Regions from separate parts of the Homo sapiens genome. Here regions 2, 3, 4 and 5 are each linked to region 1. Evidence: promoter capture Hi-C in 16 types of primary human blood cells and fetal thymus (Javierre and others, 2016). All regions are on one chromosome and are shown on one strand. The core of a region is centred on a gene start or on the middle of the fragment in contact, and the rest is flanking DNA. Distances in the headings are between cores, read along the strand shown.

The links. Contacts are between HindIII fragments. The CHiCAGO score rates a contact against its expected background, and 5 or more counts as called.
Region 2: a contact is called between a fragment that was not itself captured here and the fragment with the promoter of AMHR2 in region 1, in 4 of 17 cell types (activated CD4 T cells, fetal thymus, total B cells and 1 more). The highest score is 6.3, in activated CD4 T cells.
Region 3: a fragment that was not itself captured here is called in contact with the fragment with the promoter of AMHR2 in region 1 in 2 of 17 cell types (monocytes and total B cells); the score reaches 6.2 in monocytes.
Region 4: a contact is called between a fragment that was not itself captured here and the fragment with the promoter of AMHR2 in region 1, in 1 of 17 cell types (neutrophils). The highest score is 6.1, in neutrophils.
Region 5: a contact is called between a fragment that was not itself captured here and the fragment with the promoter of AMHR2 in region 1, in 1 of 17 cell types (activated CD4 T cells). The highest score is 5.7, in activated CD4 T cells.

Annotation. Positions count from the first base shown.
Region 1 is chr12:53,422,405-53,425,104 of GRCh38, forward strand. It overlaps AMHR2 (anti-Mullerian hormone receptor type 2), which reads left to right and starts at 1,451. Exons shown (of 11, transcript NM_020547.3): 1 at 1,451-1,579; 2 at 1,884-2,066; 3 at 2,305-2,496. The coding sequence starts at 1,531. The HindIII fragment of the contact is 5,088 bases long and covers 1-2,700 here.
Region 2 is chr12:53,067,298-53,069,997 of GRCh38, forward strand. It overlaps SPRYD3 (SPRY domain containing 3), which reads right to left. Exons shown (of 11, transcript NM_032840.3): 7 at 858-1,007; 8 at 351-408. Among named protein-coding and RNA genes, the nearest start is that of SPRYD3, 11 kb to the right of the region's middle. The HindIII fragment of the contact is 1,457 bases long and covers 591-2,047 here.
Region 3 is chr12:53,092,246-53,094,945 of GRCh38, forward strand. No RefSeq gene overlaps it. Among named protein-coding and RNA genes, the nearest start is that of IGFBP6, 4.1 kb to the right of the region's middle. The HindIII fragment of the contact is 1,191 bases long and covers 745-1,935 here.
Region 4 is chr12:53,022,156-53,024,855 of GRCh38, forward strand. It overlaps EIF4B (eukaryotic translation initiation factor 4B), which reads left to right. Exons shown (of 15, transcript NM_001417.7): 6 at 338-472. Among named protein-coding and RNA genes, the nearest start is that of EIF4B, 17 kb to the left of the region's middle. The HindIII fragment of the contact is 3,982 bases long and covers 1-2,700 here.
Region 5 is chr12:53,126,847-53,129,546 of GRCh38, forward strand. No RefSeq gene overlaps it. Among named protein-coding and RNA genes, the nearest start is that of SOAT2, 25 kb to the left of the region's middle. The HindIII fragment of the contact is 6,708 bases long and covers 1-2,700 here.

The DNA.
Region 1 (2,700 bases), core at 201-2,700:
ACTAGAACCTGGACTTTGGAGTCAGACCTGCCTAAGTTCAAATTCCAGCTCTGCTATTTCCTAGCTGAATGACTTTGGGCGACTTACGTAAGTTCAGTTTTCTTACCTATAAAATGGAAATAATAAAAATAATAGGCCAGGCACAGTGGCTCACACTTGTAATCCCAGCACTTTGGGAGGCCAAGGCGGGCAGATCACGAGGTCACGAGATCGAGACTATCCTGGCCAACATGGTGAAACCCTGTCTCTACTAAAAATACAAAAATTAGCTGGACATGGTGGTGCGTGCCTGTAATCCCAGCTACTCGGGAGGCTGAGGCAGGAGAATCGCTTGAACCAGGGAGTCAGAGGTTGCAGTGAGCCAAGATGGCACCACTGCACTCTAGCCTGGTGACAGAGCGACACTCGGTCTCAAAAAATAAATAAATAAAATAATAATAATAAATATTTCAGGGGAGAATTAGATGAGATGATTGTAAAATGCATAGCCCTAGCTGTGCCCCAGCACATAGTAGGTGCTTGATAAGAAATTTGTTACCTCCTTAATAATGGGTATTTGTTCAGCCTGTGAACCAATGTGTTTTTTTTTTTTAAGTAAAATCCACGGCTAGGCATGGTGGCTCACGCCTATAATCCCAGCACTTTGGGAGGCCGAGGCGGGCAAATCACCTGAGGTAAGGAGTTCGAGACTAGCCTGGCTGACATGGTGAAACCCCGTCTCTACTAAAAATACAAAAATTAGCCAGGTGTGGTGGCAGGCGCCTGTAATCCCAGCTACTCAGGAGGCTGAGGCAGGAGAATAGCTTGAACCCAGGAGGCGGAGGTTGCAGTGAGCTGCGATCGTGCCACTGCACTCCAGCCTGGGGGAGAAGAGCGAGACTCCGTCTCAAAAAAAAAAAAAAAAAAATCCACATAGCAAAATTTACCATTGTTACTGTTTTCAATGTGTTTTTTAAAAATTCAGGTAAGTTTTGTATACTTTCTGATTCTTAAGTTGGAAAACAAGGTAACCTCTAATATGGGCTGTGAGGCCTTCCTCTGCCCAAGCAGTTGCAGATATGAACCCTGAATATAAAGAGATCTTAGGCTAGAAAGGATCTTGGGCAGAGCTGAATGGCTCTAAGCATTTGACCTCACATTGGTTTCCTCCTGAGAAGAGTCAACAGAGTCCAGCATCTTCTTCCAAGGTCAGGGAAGGGCAAAGATTTGAAATTAGGCATCACTGGGTTCTCAGCTGGGCCTCCAAGTTCCCCTCCTCTCACTATGCAGAGCAAAGAGGAGGTTGCAGAAGAGAAGAGGATATGAGATTGGTTCTCTGCTCCTCCCTTTCTTTCCCTGCTTTCCCCACACCCACCCTCTCCCCCACAGCAGCCTTCTCCCCCACAGAGGCTGGGATAGGATGAGGGGGGCGGAGTTGGGGACTGAGGGATCAGAAGCCCCAGGATGCCCTGTATCTGAAGAAAGATTTGGCCAGGGGCAGCTGTGCTGGCTTATGCTCTTCTCCTTCTGCTGCTGCCATCCTCCAGCAAGATGCTAGGGTCTTTGGGGCTTTGGGCATTACTTCCCACAGCTGTGGAAGGTAAGTGTCTACAGGGAGGGGAAGGGTCTCTCCATCCATCCAGCAAGGGAAAGGGGCGCTTGAAGCAAGAGCCACCCCTTTGGAAGAGTGGTGAGTGGGCTGGGTGAGTAAGGGTGAAGGATAGAGCCATGTGTCCCCATGGCAGGGCTCAGGTTCCAGGCCTCTGCTGACCCTGCTTCCTCCTGTGGCTTTACCATACTGACGCTGGGATGTGGAACATGTTTTGTCTATTCTTTTGGCCAGTTTTTTGCCTCTGCATTCACTCCCACCTTGAATCTTTTCCTTTCCCCACCCTGGGCCTCAGCACCCCCAAACAGGCGAACCTGTGTGTTCTTTGAGGCCCCTGGAGTGCGGGGAAGCACAAAGACACTGGGAGAGCTGCTAGATACAGGCACAGAGCTCCCCAGAGCTATCCGCTGCCTCTACAGCCGCTGCTGCTTTGGGATCTGGAACCTGACCCAAGACCGGGCACAGGTGGAAATGCAAGGTGAATGGCAAAGTATATGGCAGGTGATGGCTAGGGTGGGAGACAGACACATCCTGGGGTGTGGGTGGCAACCAAGGGGGAAGGGGAGAAATAGAACATCTGGTGGGAAAGAAAAGCCCATGAGAGCTGGAAGGGACGCCTCTGATAGAGAAGGGATTTACCCTCTGTTTCCACACCCCATTGTGCTTTCTTCCTTGCCCCCCCTTTCTCTCCTCTTCCCCTAATCCCATCCCATCAGGATGCCGAGACAGTGATGAGCCAGGCTGTGAGTCCCTCCACTGTGACCCAAGTCCCCGAGCCCACCCCAGCCCTGGCTCCACTCTCTTCACCTGCTCCTGTGGCACTGACTTCTGCAATGCCAATTACAGCCATCTGCCTCCTCCAGGGAGCCCTGGGACTCCTGGCTCCCAGGGTCCCCAGGCTGCCCCAGGTAGCCACCCAAGGGTACTGAAGCCTGATGGGGGCTGGGGCCCAGGTTAGGATGAGAGGTGGAACCAGGGCCAGTTCTCACCCTACTCCCGCCCCACGCTTTCCTCCTCCTGGCCTTGGGAAGTTGGTTGCCCTGGTGACTGGGAGATAAGGGGTCTTGTGACCAGGGTGGGGGTGGGTTGAGACGCAAGCTCTCAGGAGGGGA
Region 2 (2,700 bases), core at 69-2,568, 360 kb before region 1:
AACTCTAGGCTCAGTTTTCTTCTAAAGAAAGCCAAGGAAACCAAGCAGCAAAAGAAAAAAGAAAATGAGGAAATGAGGGTCTGCAGGAAGGGCACGGGGGGACCAGCTCAGAGGCCTGGAATGTCCCATCTGGGCCCAGATCTCCCTCTCCTGTCCTGCTCCCCTGGTTTCCAGAGCTGGGAGGAAAACACAGATGAGGAGGAAGCACTAGCGATTTGGGAAGGGGAGGTCAGCCAGCAGCAGGGCAAACAGCAAGGCCATTTGTGAGGGGCCAGGAGAGGGGAAAGTGGATGTCCCTATGCCTCCACATCTCCCACCATCCCACCTTTCCCAGGCAGCCCGCTATTCACCTGCATGATAAGCCACAGACCCTCTGCTCCAGCCAGGGTGCCTGTTCTTGGGATAGTCCTGCACCAAGAAGAGAAAAGAAAATCTATGGTCCCATGCATAAACAAGACAGGAGAGAGTGGCGAGTAGCATCTGAACCTCTGGGACAGACCACAGCCCAGAGAGTGCCAACCCTGCACACTCATACCCTGCAGGCACTGGGGCTTCAGGGGAACCAGGGAGGGTGAGGAAAGTGTTAGTTAAGCTTTTAAGGCCAGAGCCATGGCATGTCCCACCCCCTCCCCCCAGGCCTTAGTGTGTGGTGCAGTCATGACCTGTCTCAGGTCCTTGGTCACATGGGGTGTGTACTCTTACACAGCAGACACATACAACTGTGTTCCATCTCAGCTTAGCACCCTCCCTCCAAAGCCTGGGCTCCCCTGGTTTCTCCTAAGAGCTTCCTGGTGCTGCCCCAACAGCCCCAGACCTGAGCAGCTCCATGAGCAAAAAAGCTCAGCCTTTGTGCCCACCTTCCGTGCCAGCCCCAGGGCGATGTAGCATTTCTCTCCAGGGTCCACGATCTCCACCTCGAAGTAGTGGCTGCGGGTGCTGAGTGGGTGCCGGGCCTGGGCCAGCCCCACATCCACGATGCTTTTGCCCTTCCCTAAGTACTCCAGCAGCTGTGGGGGAAGAGCCAGATGGGGGTCAGGGGACAGGCTGACACCCACCCTGGAAACCTGGGCCCAAGGCAGTCTGGGTCCCACTTTCCCAGGTCTGACAAAAACTCCTGGCTGAAAGGGAAAGAATCCTAGAGATACAATGTGGCCCCAAAGTTCTAGGCCAGCATGGAAGAGCAGGATGGGGTGGGAGGCAAAGGGGAGAGCACCCCTTGCTGAATGCCCACGCTGTCTTCCCCCACACACTTTCTGGGAGGCCGGGGAAAGCAGCACAGCTAGGGGAGCGGCACACCAGGGGGCTCTAGATGCATCCTCGCCCGCTGAAAAACCCTGCAGCCTTTCCTGCTGGGAAAGGTCCGCCCAGGGTCCCAAACACAGGGGAAAGGAGAAGCAAGACTAGCTGAGAGGAAACTTGATGACTTTCTCAGGGGGCCTAATGGGGACAGGGAGGATGCAGAAGTTAGGTGCCAACCCCAGATATTCAGGGGAAGCGGGTGAGTTCAGAAGCCAATTCTGCCTGGGATGGGCCTGACATAATTTCTCAAGGTCCTTGTTTTACTTGGCTGTGAACACAGCTGTTCTTAGCTGGGTCAGGGAGGTGCTGAGGGGAGCCCAGGGACCCAGAACGCCCAGCTCTACTCCCTCATTTCATGTGAGGGAGAGGAGAGGTCAAAATGAAGACAGAGGCAGGCTTAGCTGTTCCCAGCCCCTCATTGCTCATTCAAGTTGGAGTAGGGGCGTGGAGGTAGGATAGGGGAGATGACTGATGGGTTCTTGGGGCTCTTCAGTCCCACAATGGTCCTGCCTGGGCACGACGGGGCGGCAACCCCCAATCTGGGAGGATTTATTTGTCAGTTGTCATGGTAATAGTGGGGTGATGACTCAACCCCATCCCCTCTTTCCCCCACCTTCGGCCTCACCTGGGATTCCTTAATCTCCTTTTAATTAGCCCAACTGCCCCTCACGACTTTCTTCTACCCTCCCACCCCTGCAGCCCTGAAGGAAACATGTTGCCTAGGGACCTCCTCCACGTCTCCCTGGCAAGCTTTGGGACGCCGGCCTCTCACCTCTCACAGATTCCTGCCTGAACAGGAAAGGAATTATGCCCACCTGCACCAGCACAGAAGCCTGTGCGTGTCTCCAGCAGAGGCTGCTCCCGCATCCCCACTCCCAGCCTCAGACGGCCGCTGCTTAGCTCAGGTGCTTAGAGCGGGGTGCTACTAACCCCTTCTGAGAGTAGGACTAGAGGGGCTTGGTGCCTTTCTCAGCCCTGGATCTCAGCCCCGCCACCTCAAGTCCATCCTTCCCTCCTCTCCAAAGATAACTGGGGATGGATGAGGGGGAAAGCAGCATGCACGGGAGACCACCTAAGCCCATCCCCAAGGCCACACTGTTTGACTTCTGTTCATGGTGTATTCTCTGCTCAGCCTGGGTTCCTCCTCTGCCTCTCTCCCCGGGAAGCCAGGAGGGGTGTGGCTTGATCCACATTAACTAGTTTAGACTCCACCCAGGCAGAGCAGCCCCCAGCCCACCCTCTCCACCCAGCATTGCAGAACTGGGTGGGGGACCCCACAGCTGCCTTTGACCCATTCTATCCAACTGGCCTCGGTGTAGGAAACACAGTGTTCTCCATTTCCAGAGCCAAAAGACAGCCGATCCAGACCCTGATCCTTGGGAAATACCCGGCCAGCCCCTC
Region 3 (2,700 bases), core at 90-2,589, 330 kb before region 1:
GGATGAATTAAAAGGAAGGCAGGGTGTCAACTGGCCAAGTAGGTGAGGAAGAGGTGCCAGAATTTGGTTAATGATGGGCTAGGTGTGGTGTCTCATGCCTGTAATCCCAGTACTTTGGGAGGCTGAGGTGGGAGGATCACTTGAGTCTAGGAGCTCAAGCTCCTATATTGTCCAGCCTGGACAATATAATAATAAGATCCTGTCTATATAAAATACTTTTTTTTCTTTTTTGAGGGGGGTTTCGCTCTCGTTGCACAGGCTGGAGTACAATGGTGTGATCTCAGCTCACTGCAACCTCCGCCTCCTGGGTTTAAGCAATTCTCCTTCCTCAGCCTCCCAAGTAGCTGGGATTACAGGCATGCGCCATCATGCCAGGCTAATTTTTTTGTATTTTTAGTAGAGACGAGGTTTCACCATGTTGGTTTCACCAGGCTGGTTTCGAATTCCTGACCTCAGGTGATCTGCCCACCTCGGCCTCCCAAAGTGCTGGGATTACAGGCGTGAGTAAGCACACCTGGCCTAAAAAATTAAAAAATTAGCCAGATGTGGTGGTGCGTGGCTGTGGTCCCAACTACTCTGGAGGCTGAAATGGAAGGATTACTTGAGCCCATGAGGTTGAGGCTGCAGTGAGCTGTGACTGAGCCACTGCACTCCAGCCTGGGTGACAGAGTGAGACCCTGTTTCAAAAAAAAAAGAATGTGGCTAGTGATGAGGGGAGTGAAGGGAGGGTCCTTGTAAGCTGAAAGCTTGGAGTTCAGGGGAAGAAATGATCTCTGAGCACCAATTATGCCTCATCCTCATTTCCCCTTATCCCATTTCAATCCCCAAGATGAGAAACTACCAGGGGGTTCTGGGGAAGGTGATTCAGCCAGCTAACTGAAGCAGAGTGTGTTTCAGGGTCATTGTCTACGGGACCCTGAATGTCAGGTGGAGCACAGGTTCTATGGTAGGGGAGGACATCGAGGAATAACACACACCGGGACCTGTGGGGTCGGGGGGCAAGGGGAGGGAGAGCATCAGATCAAATAGCTAAGGCATGTGGGGTTTAATACATAAATATATGGACTGGGCATGGTGGCTTATGCCTGTAATCCCAGCATTTTGAGAGGCTGAGGCGGGCAGATCATGAGGTCAGGAGTTGGAGACCAGCATGATCAACATGGTGAAACCTCGTCTCTACTAAAAATACAAAAATTAGCCGGGCACGGTGGCACGTGGCTGTAATCCCAGCTACTCAGGAGGCTGAGGCAGGAGAATCACCTGAACCCAGGAGGCAGAGGTTGCAGTGAGCCGAGTTCGCGTCACTGCACTCCAACCTGGGCGACAGAGCCAGACTCCGTCTCAAAAAAAACGAAAAACAAAAAACATAAATACATAAGTGATGGATTGATAGGTGCAGCAAACCACTGTGGCACATGTTTACCTATGTAACAAACCTGCACATTCTGCACATACATCCCAGAACTTAAAGTAAAATTTAAAAACCAAGAAATAAAAAGTAAAGTGCCCCCGAAATCCTTGAGGAGAAGAGAATTATGGGATCAGGAGCACATTTCAGCAGGACCAGTTTGGATGGTATGTGTGGGAGAGATGGCAGAAAACAGAGGCTGCAGGTTAGCTGAGGTTTACACAGTAGTTCCCATCAGGCCCACGTCAGCCTTAGGCCATGTCATGATGTGATGTGGTCATTGAACTTCCTCTCTGGGACTTTCTGTCTGTGGACTGTGCCACTGTTTCTCGTCTCAAATTTAAAGCTGAATATGGTCCAGGCAGGCCCCTTCCTTTATCCCTTGTTCTCAAAAGGAAGTCAGCACTTGGGGCACCATGAATTTAGAGGGACGGGTTGAGTGTGAGAGACACAGCATGAAGGATCAGAAAACCAGGGTATAATGTAGATGCGGAGGAGGAAGTTCCAGTAGAGTTTGTTTATGGAAAAGCTTAAGTGATAGCCCAAGCTATTTAGCCTTTCCTCAGCCTGGAAGAAACTTCTCAGCAAACCCTTCTCACACAAAGGCCAGACAGAATCCGACAGTTTTGTACCTTGGCCCACACTCTTGGTCTGAGTGCTGAACATGTGCTTCAGATTTCTGCCCTGGGTACTAAGGCAGAGGGCATCCCAATGGCAGGAAGGCAGAGTTCAAGCGTCTCAGTCTGCAAAGAGACCGGTTAGACCCTCAGTGCTGATGGCCATACAACTGGGGATCATGCTAGAGGGAGGGGGAAACAGGGAAGTGTAATCCTGGGGTGGTGGGTGGAACTGGACTGTGCAATCGGGCTTAGAATCTAGAAAGTAACAGCTGGGCAGGTGGGAGCGGCAGGCAGGGAGAATCTGAGGCAGTGGTAGCAGCGTGGGAAGCGGGGGCTGGAAATTGAGGAGGGTTGAGGAGGGAGTGGTGGATGTTAGAAGCTGGCAAAGTGTTGGGCTTTTTCTGAACGATAACCTACAAAGGAGTAGCACAGCCTTTTTTTTTTTTTTTTTTTTTTTTTTTTTTTTTTCTTTGAGACAGGGTCTCACTCTGGTTGTTCCAGGCTGGAGTGCAGTGGTGTGATCTTGGCTCATCCCTTCCACCTTAGCCTCCTAGGTAGCTGGGACTAAAGGCATGCACCACCACATCTGGCTGATATTTTGTATTTTTAGTAGAGATGGGGCTTGGTCATGTTGCCCAGGCTGGTCTGGAACTCCTGGGCTCAATTGATCCT
Region 4 (2,700 bases), core at 158-2,657, 400 kb before region 1:
GACTGATTGATCTAGATGAACATTAAATAGATGATAAATAGATTAGCTGCCTAACAGCACGTTGGTCACAAAGGGGACCTAATTTGTATATGTTTCAGGGACTCCTGGCCCATACAGAATTTGAGATAGCTAAGCATTAAACCAATAGGAAAAAACGGGAGGAAAAGAGCCACCTGGGGTTGAATTGGAGCATGTACTTATGGGGCCTGAGGTAACTGGGATGACAGTGTGACGTGAAAGTGAAAAATAGGGTAAAATGGGGGTTTTCTATGTGTGAGAAATATTGGGCAAAGTTTTTATGAGATAACTTACGGTTTTTGTTTTAATGTATCTGTAGACAGGGATGATCGTTCTTTTGGCCGTGATAGAAATCGGGATTCTGACAAAACAGATACAGACTGGAGGGCTCGTCCTGCTACAGACAGCTTTGATGACTACCCACCTAGAAGAGGTGATGATAGCTTTGGAGACAGTAAGTTTGTTTTTATGAAGTTAGCTTCCTCTGTGCTTTGGGAGGCTATTTAGTAATAGGACAAATGTGTTACAGATGATCAGATCACATTAACAGATAGAAGGAGGAAAGCAGATTAAGAAAAATTTTGGATAGTATCTGAAAGAACTGATAGATGCAGGAAACGAATTTGATAAATTAATAATTTTTTTTGAAAACTTAACCAAACAAAGGGACAGACATTTCTCTTTTTTTGGAGACAATTGTTTATAAAGAAACCCAAACTGGGCATGGTGGCTATAATCCCAACGCTTTGGGAGGTCAAGGCAGGTGGATTGCTTAAGGCCAGGAGTTTGAGAGCAGCCTGGGCGACAAAACAAGACCCTGTCTACCAAAAAGAAAAAGAAAAAGCTGACGTGGTGGTACGCACCTGCAGTCCTAGCTGTTCAGCAAGCTGAGGCAAGAGGACTCCTTGAGCCCAGGAGGTCTAGACTGGGTGACAGAGCGAGACCCTGTCTCAAAAAAAAAAATCCAACAGATTCTACAAAGTGAGCTATTTGAAATAAGAGTTCAGCATGATTGCTGAGTGAAGAGCAGCATACAAAGATCAGTTGCATTACTTTTTGATATATATATATATTTTTGAGACGGAGTCTCGCTGTGTCGCCCAGGCTGGAGTGCAGTGGCGTGACCTTGGCTCACTGCAACCTCCACCTCCTGGATTCAAGTGATTCTCCTGCCTCAGCCTCCCAAGTAGCTGGGACTACAGGCGCGCGCCACCACACCCAGCTAATTTTTGTATTTTTAGTAGAGATGGGGTTTCACCATGTTGGCCAGGATAGTCTTGATCTCTTGACCTCATGATCCGCCCGCCTTGGCCTCCCAAAGTGCTGGGATTACAGGCGTGAGCCACTGCGCCTGGCCCATCAGTTGCATTACTATATGCTTGTAGCAAACAATTAAAATGTAAAATTTTTTTTTTTTTTTTTTTTTTGAGACAGAGTTTCGCTCTTGTTGCCCAGGCCGGAGTGCAATGGCATGATCTCAGGTCACCTCAACCTCCGCCTCCTAGGTTCAAGCGATTCTCCTGCCTCAGCCTCCCGAGTAGCTGGGATTACAGGCATGTGCCACCATGCCTGGCTAATTTTGTATTCTTAGTAGAGATGGGGTTTCTCCATGTTGGTCAGGCTGGTCTCGAACTCCTGACCTCAGGTGATCCTCCTGCTTCAGCCTCCCAAAGTGCTGGGATTACAGGCATGAGCCACTGCACCTGGCCTAAAATGTAACTTTCTAAAATAAAAATATTGATTCACTTTAAAAATACTCAAGATATAGCAGTGAACAAAGATACAGCAGTGTAATTTTTTTCTAATAAAAATTGATTCACTTAAATGCTCAAGATACAGCAGTGAACAAAAACAAGAAAATCCTGTCTTTATTGGGCATACATTATTATAGTGGAGGGAAGAGACAGTGTGTGAATAATTAAACAGTTGGGGTGCGGAAAGATAGGTGAGTGGGAAATATCATGGGGTAGGAGTAGAGATTAATTACATACATCACTTTAACAAAGACCTTTATGGGGAAAATTATGCAACTTTATTAAAATACACAAAAGTAGACCACACTATTTTTAAAATGGAAAGAAGCTACTACCTAGTAAAAATAAATAAATAGTGGTTTGTCTGTAATCAAATACTTAATAGCATAACAACAGGGATAAAATTCAAAACCTGTTACATTAAGGGGAAAAAAATTGTGTATAAATTTGAAAACAATACCATGTAGTATTAATGCATAAGTTGTAAAATTATAAAGCTACGCATGGTAATTTAACCACCCTTTTAATTGTTGGTGGGGATAGGGAAAATTCTGTTTTTAGTCTGTAACATATTTCTTTTAAACAAAAAACAAACATGGCAAAATATGACATTCACTAAACCTAAGTAATAGGTTCATAAGTTTGTTATAATGGTGTCTTTACTTTTCTGTATGTTTGAAATAGTTTAAGTAAAAACAGACCAACTTAAATTTACAAGCTCTTTGTTTTGTTTTGTTTTGTTTTGTTTTGACACAGTCTCTCTGTGTTGCCCAGACTGGAGTGCAGTGGCAATCTTGGCTCACTGCAACCTCTGCCTGCCAGGTTCAGGGTGTTCCTCATGCCTCAGCCTCCTGAGTAGCTGGGATTACAGATGCGCACCACCACACCTGGCTAATTTTTGTATTTTTTAGTAGAGATGGGGTTTCAC
Region 5 (2,700 bases), core at 114-2,613, 300 kb before region 1:
CAGCACTTTGGGAGGCTGAGGCAGGTGGATCACAAGGTCAGGAGTTTGAGACCAGCCTGACCAACATGGTGAAACCCCGTCTCTATTAAAAATACAAAAATTAGCCGGGAGTGGTGGTGCACGCCTGTAATCTCGGCTACTCAGGCAGCTGAGGCAGGAGAATCACTTGAACCCAGGGGGCAAAGGTCGCAGTGAGCCAAGATTGTGCCACCGCACTCCAACCTGGGCAACAGAGCGAGACTCCATCTCAAAAAAAAAAAAAAAAAAAGAAAGAAAGAAAGATTCCTGTGTAGTCATTTATTTCTCTCAGTTTTCCCACTTTGAGCCTCCAGTGTTGCAGATGAAAAGTCCCATACCAATGTGATTTGTTTCCTTTTGTAGATAACTTGCTCTTTCTGTCTAAAAACTTGAAAATGTTTTTCTTTAACCTTGAAGTTTGGGAGTTTCATGCCTGTGTGTATGTCTTTTCTTGTTGTATCTTCCTGTTTCCTTTCAGTCTTCAAGCTCAGATATTTCTTCACGTCAGCAAAATTTTCTTCTATTCTTTATTGCTTCTCCTCCATCTATTCCTTTTCCCCCTTTTGGAACTAATATAGTTGAATTTCAGGACTACTGGATCTACTCTCCAAGAATCACATTTTCCTCATTATTTCCATCTCTTCATAGTATTTGCTCCATGCTTTGAAATATTATTTCCACTTGTTCTTCCAAGCCACTAATTTGAGTCTCAGCAGTGCCTATTCTCTCTTTCAATACATATACTAATTTTTTTGTTGTTGAAAGTGTTGTTTTTTTAGTTCCCAAAAGTTGTTTCTTTCTTTTTCCTTTTTTTTCTTTCTTTTCTTCTTCCTCTTTTTTTTTTTTTTTTTTTTTCATACTACTTGAATCTCTAAGTGCTCCTAATTGTTTAAGTTATCATATATCTCTTTCAGTGGCTACTGTGCTTTCTGGTGGGCAGGGAAACAAGCTATCATAACTGCATCCCTGCAGGGCCAAGGCTCTCTGAGTCACATTCTTCCAGTGTTCCCATGGTCCTGATCTCTCTGCTCTGGGTGCTTCAAAGCTGGTCTCTATGCAGTGAGAGTGAGGAAGCTCCTCACCAGGTCTCCACACCAGGACTTCCCCCCTCTAACCCTAAGTTAAGGCTTTAATTGGCACCCTGCAGCCTGGCTCCAGCAGCAACATGGCTAAATGTTTGGAAATGAGGGTGGAATAGAGTGGAAATTGCCTTAGAACTGTAGTTCTCAAACTCCATCGTGCATTAGAACTACCTTCGGGGTTTGTTAATACAGAGTTTCTGATTCATTAAGTCTGGGGTCAAGCCTGAGAATGTGCATTTCTAACAAGTTTCCAGGGCAAGCCCTTGCTGCTGATCTAGGGACCACTTCTTTAGCATACACCGAACCAAGCCCTCTTTCTTCTCCTCCTTTTTTTCCTTTTTCTTCTTCAAAATTATTCTTTCTTTTCTTTCTTACTTTTTTTTTCTTTTTTTTTTTGAGACAAAATCTTGCTCTGTCATCCAGGCTGGAGTATAGGAGTGCGATCTCAGCTCACTGCAACCTCCCGCTCAAGAGATTCTCATGCCTCTGCCTCCCGAGTAGCTGGCGTTACAGGTGTGCCCCACTGCACCTGGCTAATTTTTTCTATTTTTAATAGAAATGGGATTTCACTGTGTTGGCCAGGCTGGTCTTGAACTCCTGGACTCAAGTGATCTGCCTGCCTCAGCCTCTCAAAATTCTGGGATTACATGCATGAGTCACCGCGCCCAGCCCAAAATTATACATTCTTTTTATGGTAAGGAAATTAACCCAATGTCAGGGAATTATCTCCTAGTTTTATGTTTAGTCTTCCTACTAGTTCACGGTACTGGGACTTGTACACGAATGAGCTCCATCCAGGCGCCTCCTCCACCGAAACGCTCATGGGTGCATCCCTGACGAGCCCAGGTGTGTCTAAGGAGGAGGCACCAGCGGGGACCCGAAGGCACTCCAGGCAGGACACCACCACTGGGCTCACCTGAAGATGAGTAAAGGTGGGTCAGACCAGAAGTTGCCATCTGTGCATGGCCTCAGGCCCCCCTCCTCTTTGGACACCCTTTTATTATTAGCTTTGTGCCCACACAGCCCTCCCTTCAGGATCCTCAGGGGTCAGAGGGCTGTGGTTCGGGAAGTACCTAGGGTGGCAGTAGGTGGTGAGGCTGCTGCCCGGCAGGACTTTCCTCCCCTGCTGAGAGCCACCTTTCTTCCTGTCTACAGTCTGCGAGTGTTGTCCCCTGTGTGTCCCCAGACTGCACCCAACTGCTTGTTACAGACACCTTCCCTTCACCCCTTTGATTTTGCCTAGTGTTTCCCCTTCTTTAAATCACCTTGCCTGTCCTGGGACCCTTATAGCACTCGCTCTGCTGTCCTATGGTCCCCTCCCGAATCTGTGCTGTCCAGTGTCTGTGACCTCTGTAACACCCCACACCTCACTATCCATGCTCCTCTCATGCTCTGCCATGCGGAGCTCCTCTTCCATAACACACACTCCACCGTTCTACAACACAGGCTTCAAATGGGCATTTCAGCAAAGTCCAATGACCTTAATCTTAATCTGCATGCAGGATTTCCTTTTTTTTCTTTCTTTCTTCCTTTTTTTTTTTTGACAGAGTCTTGCTCTGTCTCCCAGGCTGGAGTGCAGTGGTGCAATCTTGACTCACTG